2 separate regions of the Homo sapiens genome follow, and region 2 is linked to region 1. Evidence: promoter capture Hi-C in 16 types of primary human blood cells and fetal thymus (Javierre and others, 2016). All regions are on one chromosome and are shown on one strand. Each heading gives the region's core, a stretch centred on a gene start or on the middle of the fragment in contact. The rest is flanking DNA. Distances are from core to core; before and after follow the strand shown.

Region 1 (3,124 bases), core at 241-2,740:
CTCTTGGGCTCAAGAAATCCTCCCGTTTTGGCCTCCCAAAACACTGGGACTACAGGTGTGTGCCACCACACCCAGCTAATTAAAAAAATTTTTTTAGAGATGGGGTCTCGTTCTGTTGTCCAGGCTGGTCTCAAATTCCTGTTCTCAAGCGATCCTCCTGCCTCAGCCTCCAAAAATGTTAGGATTGCAGGTGCAAGCCACTGCACCTGGCCTCTATCTCCCTGTTTCTTGCTCTCTCCCCATCTGTGTGTGTCTCTGACAGTCTGTGGCTCTCTGTATCTTTCTGTGTGTCTCTCTGTGTGTGTCTTGGTCCATCTCATGCCCAGCTAATTTTTAAATTTTTTGTAGAGATGGGGTTTCACCATGTTGGCCAGGCTGGTCTTGAACTCCAGACCTCAGGTGATTCTCCTGCTTCAGCCTCCCAAAGTGTTGGGATTACAGGCATGAGCCACCGTGCCTGGCCCATGGGTATGAATTTCTGCCTGTGTGTGTCTTCTTCTTTTTTTTTTTTTTTTTGAGATGAAGTCTTGCTCTGTCACCCAGGCTGGAGTGCAGTGGCGCTATCTTGGCTCACTGCAACCTCCACCTCCTGGGTTCAAGCAATTCTCCTGCCTCAGCCTCCCGAGTAGCTGGGATTACAGGCACCCGCCACCACACCCAGATAATTTTTGTATTTTTGGTAGATATGGGGTTTCACCATGTTGGTCAGGCTGGTTTTGAACCCCTGACTTCATGACCTGCCTGCCTTGGCCTCCCAAAGTGCTGGGATTACAGGCATGAGCCACCGCGCCCGGCCCATGGGTGTGAATTTCTGCCTGTGTGTGTCTTTTTAGCGTATGTGTGTCTCCATATCTGCCATCTGCAGGAGCACCTCAGTTTCATTATCTTGCTCCCTGTCTATTGGAGTGTATCTCTCTTCCTCTCTGTGTGACTTTTTGTGTTTATGTGTGTGTTTAGTGTGTGTCCATATTTTCCTGTTCTCTTGTGTCTCTCTGCTGTGTCTCTCTCTTTTTCTTTCTGTTTTTTGAGACGGAGTCTCCCTCTGTCACCCAGGCTGGAGTGCAGTGGTGCGATCTCGGCTCACTGCAACCTCTGCTTCTGAGGTTCAAACGATTCTCCTGCCTCAGCCTCCCGAGTAGCTGGAATTACAGACACATGCCACCATGCCCAGCTAATTTTGTATTTTTAATAGAGACGGGGTTTCACCATGTTGGCCAGGCTGGTCTTAAACTCTTGACCTTACGTGATCCACCCGCCTCGGCCTCCCAAAGTTTTTGGATTACAGGTGTGAGCCACCTCGCCCGGTCCTATCTCTCTTTCTTCTCTTTCTCCCTCTCACTTTGTTTCTCTTCTCTCTCTCTCTCCCGCCTCCTTCCCCCGTCTCCCCTCCCTTCCCCCCACCGCCCTCTTCATAGCTGAGCCTGTCCGGCAGTGCGGCGGATGTACGGATGATTCAGTGGCTGGCAGGAAGCCCGCCCTGCCCGCCCGCCAGTGTCAGTGGTGTTGGCATCAGCTTGGGCAGGTGTGCGGGCTCAGGATGGGGCGGCCGTGGTGAGGAACCCTGGACTCTCAGGTAAGCCTTTCCCAGGGGTGCCTCAGTCCTCAGGCTGTCCCCCATCCCCCAGGAGCTCCTGGCCCCACTGGGTGGGGTGGGAAGAGGCCTGGATGCCTGGCGCCCCCTCCCGCAGCCCCACTCTCACCCTGGCACCAGGCTCTGTGGCACTTCAGGGGTCAGTTTGTTTCTGGGCTTCTGGCCACTCTCTTGCCCTCGCCTTCCCCTGTCCAGCCTGTGTAGCCTTGGGACATCCCAGGGTGGTCCCATCATTGCCAGAGACTGGTGAAGTAAGTGGCCGAGAGCCAAAACAGTGGCTGCCCTGGCCTGGGAGCCTCGGTTTCCTCATCCGTGAAATGGGACTGTAACCCCCTACACAGGTCAGGGGAAAACGGTGGGATTACAGGCCAGGGCCCAGGTCTTGCCCCAGGTCAGGTGAAGAACCCCCACTGCCTCCCTGCCCAGCCCCCTACCTGGCCCTCAACTCTGTCCCTGGGACCAGGGCTGCTCAGGCCCCTCCTGCACCCGCCCGCCTCCCTCTCTCCCTCCCAGCTAGGCTCATTTGAAGCCCAGAGTTATTTGGAAAAAGCAACAGGACCAGCCGGGCACGGTGGCTCAACCTGTAATCCCAGCATTTGGGGAGGCCAAGGCGGGAGGATCATTTGAAGTCAGGAGCTGGAGACCAGCCTGAGCAACATAGTGAGACTCCCATCTCTTTAAAAAATAAAAATAAAAAAATATAATTAAAAACTAAATGAAAAAACCAACAGACCCCAGAGCAGAGTCCAGTGGATAAAGCCATCCAGGGCTTCAAGCCAGGCTGCCCCCTCCCCAACCCCAGTGTCCCCAACCACAGCTCAGCTCGGAGAAGGCTGGGAGAACCGGCAGGGTGGTCTCGAGCGTCCTTCCAGGCGGGATTCAGACACTGTAGCTCCTCCAGCCCAGCCCCGAGAACTTCCCCGAAGCCAGCTCTTGGCAATCGTTGTTCATATGAAAACTGCCCACTTCCCTTTAGTGCTATTTTGGCCTCTGCAGAACCGTGGTCTGTGGCAGCCCCCACTCCCCACCCCGCCCAGCCCTGCCGGCCCCTGGGGGCCTCAGAGGGTCCACCCTCCGCTCCCTCCACCTCAGCCCACCTGCTTTCAGAACCTGGATGGGAGAGTGAAAGTGAGAGCGAGACAGAGACACAAAGGGAGACAGAGACAGAGAGAGAGCACAGAATTTTTTTAAACGGAGTCTCACTCTGTTGTCCAGGCTGGAGTGCAGTGGCGTGATCTCGGCTCACTGCAACCTCCACCTCCCAGGTTCAAGCAGTTCTCCTGCCTTACCCTTCCAAGTAGCTGGGGACTACAGGCACGTGCTACCACACCTGGCTAATTTTTTATTTTTTATTTATTTTTTATTTTTTGGAGACAGTCTTGCTCTGTCTCCCAGGCTGGGAGTGCAGTGGTGCAATCTTGGCTCACTGCAAGCTCCACCTCCCGGGTACATGCCATTCTCCTGCCTCAGCCTCCCGAGTAGCTGAGACTAGAGGCGCCTGCCACCACGACCGGCTAATTTTTTGTATTTTTA
Region 2 (2,869 bases), core at 38-2,537, 450 kb after region 1:
GGCTTCTGTAATCAGATTGCTTCTCCGGTGAGCTTTACGCTCTCCATGTATTTTTCAAAAAAAATCCAACATGAAAATTCTAGAGGAGGCTTTATTGGGTGCGGTCTGTGCAAGAGAGACGATGGGGAATGCCAATCGGAGAACCCAGATTGAAAGGAAAGGTTTTTGGAACCCACATCAAAAGACTGGCTGCTCGGAAAGTTTTCTCGCTAGCGACAAAGGCTTGGAGGCTGGAAAAAGCGTCGTGGTCGCCACCTACCGAGAAGCGGCGGGTGGGGGGAGGATGGCCGTCGTGGCCCGAATCCCCAGTGGGTGGTACTGGGTGGGGGGGCGGGCGGGAATCAAAAAACCACTCAATCTCGTGCTTTACATAAACATCTAAAAATCGTCGGCCTCGGGGTTGTAAAGTTTTGGAGTTTAACTTAGGTGAACAGTAATGTCTCTCCATTTTCAAAACCCACCGGCTAATTCAAGTTGAGAAGCAAAAAATAGTGGTAGGGGGAGGAGTTTGAGTTAAATCGCATCGCGGTTGACAGAACAAAACAGGAGCTACGAGTCAGGATTTCTGCTCCCACTCCCTTGCAAGTTTCCTTCCAAATCCTGAGGGAGAGATAGAGGCGGAGGGTCTGGGGGAGGAATTAAAACACAAGGTCTCCTCCCCTCTCGCCTGTCCGAACTTGGGGGCAACGGTCTCTTTGGAGGCCAGCTTGGAAAACACTAGAGAGGAGTTCTTTGTGTCCTGGAGGGTGGTGCAAGGCGGAAGGACTCCCCTTTTGCAGAGCAAGGAGGGCGACGGCCCAGCCCGGGGCTCCCCGGCTTTTGCAGCTTCCCTGCCTCGCAATTTGCAAGGAATGTGGGGTGCAAGAGCAAGTGGCGGACTTGGACGGCGGCTGGCGCTCGGTGGGGACGACGCCGGAGCCACCACCCGTCCAGATTTCCGTTTCTGCACCCCGGCTCCCCTCCCCCACCCGGGCGGCCGCGCAGGCCCCAGGTGCAGCCATGTTCTCGCTCCCACCACCCTCGCCTCCATTGACAGCCCTTGCTGGAGAGGGCCGGGCGCCGCGCTTGCCTCGTCCTCGGGTTCGGGGCTAGCCGGCGCGGTGCTTCCTGGGAGTTGTAGTCCACGACCGCCGCCGCCGCGTTGACGGGGAACGCATCCGAAACTACAACTCCCGCTGGGCGGCGCTGCGGATGCGCAGGCGCAACGCGCCTTCGAGGAACAAAAAAAAAAAAAAAAAAAAAAAAAAAGAAAAAAAAGAAAAAAAAAAGGAGGAGGAGGAGGAGGGTGAGAGAGAAGCTGGGAGAGCAGAGAAAAGGGGCCACCGGTCGCCCCCCCGCTTCCCCGCACGCGCTCTCCAGCCGCGGCCGCCCGCCTGCCGCGGTCACCCCGGCCTCTGCCTCTGTCCCCCAGTGATCGGATCAAGGCGCTGAGCGAGGCCCTGCCTGCGGGGCGGCCATGCGGCGGTGACAGGAGCGCGACCGACACGCACGGGCCCCTCGCCCCCTCTCGCCTCCCGTCCGCTCGCCAGCTCCCCTCAGCCGAGGCTGCTCCGCGGCGGCCGCAGCCCGCGCGCGGCCCACACTCGCCTCCCCTCGGCACCCCCGGCCCCGGAGCTGCCTGGAGGCGGCCGCACTCGGGTGAGTCCCTCTCGCCTCATCCCCGCGCCCCCCGCCCCCGCCTCGGGGGCCATTGCGAGCGGGGGCCTTTATTAGAGACTTTGCCCCGCCGGGGCCTGCAGGGACAGGGGCCTGGGAGCCGCGGCCCGCCGCGCGCGGTGTGGGGCCTTGGGGGGCGCCCGTGCCGCCTCCCCCTACCCCCACCCCCACCGCCTCGCCGGGTCTCGAGCCCCGCCGGCCTTGGCAGTGGCCGAAACGAGGCGATGGGGGTGGGGCGGCACGGACGCGGTCGCGGGGGACGACAGTGGCACGCGCGCGCCTCAGTGCGCGTGGGGGAGGGGCGCGCGCGCCGACCGGCGTGCGGTGGGGGGGCGCCTCGCGCGTGCGATCCCGCGCGCGAGCGAGCGAGCGGCCCTGCGGGCTGCGCATGCCCCGCCGCGCTGATTGGCCGGCTAGGCGGTGCGGGGGCGCGCGCGGTGCCAGGCCCGAGCCGTCGTGGGGTCGCGCTCGCCTGGTGTATCTGGGGCTCCTGCGCCGGGGCAGCAGACGCGCGGGATTGGCCAACCGGCGCGGGGGCGGGGCCGCGCGTTGCCTGGTAACTGCGGCGGGCGGGGGAGCGGGAGCGCTGTCCCCCGCCCCGCCCCGCTCCCAGGTGGAGTCCGCAGTGGGCTTTGTCCCGGGCCGGCCCGGCGCGCCTGCCCCGCGGGGCCTGTTCTTTGGGGGAAATAAACACAATGACCGGAAGGAAAACTTCAGCTTTAGGCCATGAAAATTAAGCCGTCTGGGTTCAGCCAGCACCCAGACGACGGGAGTGCAGAGGAAGAAGGAAAATGAAATGGAAAAAGCTGTCTCCTTCCCGCTCCCCGACTTCTCCACTTTTTCTTAATCCAGCTTTTGCTTTTTCGTGTAGCGAATTTTGTCCTCCCTAGGTTATGGATTTGCGCTGATTTGCGGCTGGGGATGTTCACAGGTGGGGTGCTGTTGGAGTAGTGTCCACTCTTGGCGATGCGCAGCTCTTGCTGACTACTGACCTCCTTTTTTTAAAAAAAATTATTTGTGGAGATGCGTTCTCACTTTGTTGCCCAGGCTGGTCTTGAACTCCTAGGCTCAAGCGATCCTCCCACCTTGGCCCCCCATAGTGCTGGGATTACAGGTGTGAGCCATCGCTTTCGGCTTAATTTTCTTTTTTTTTTTTAGAAACAGGGTCTCTCTGTGTTGCCCTGGCTGAAGCGCAGAGTGGCACAATCATAGC

Evidence for each region. Contacts are between HindIII fragments. The CHiCAGO score rates a contact against its expected background, and 5 or more counts as called.
Region 2: the fragment with the promoter of GTF2I here is called in contact with the fragment with the promoter of LAT2 in region 1 in 1 of 17 cell types (neutrophils); the score reaches 6.5 in neutrophils.

The regions. Positions count from the first base shown.
Region 1 is chr7:74,208,516-74,211,639 of GRCh38, forward strand. LAT2 (linker for activation of T cells family member 2) reads left to right here and starts at 1,491. Exons shown (of 14, transcript NM_032464.3): 1 at 1,491-1,573. RefSeq lists enhancers at 975-1,084, 2,305-2,424 and silencers at 1,365-1,414, 2,525-2,614. The HindIII fragment of the contact is 29,775 bases long and covers 1-3,124 here.
Region 2 is chr7:74,656,431-74,659,299 of GRCh38, forward strand. It overlaps GTF2I (general transcription factor IIi), which reads left to right and starts at 1,288. Exons shown (of 35, transcript NM_032999.4): 1 at 1,288-1,638. RefSeq lists silencers at 838-997, 1,368-1,547, 1,568-1,857, 1,928-2,447 and enhancers at 1,078-1,197, 1,218-1,267. The HindIII fragment of the contact is 31,155 bases long and covers 1-2,869 here.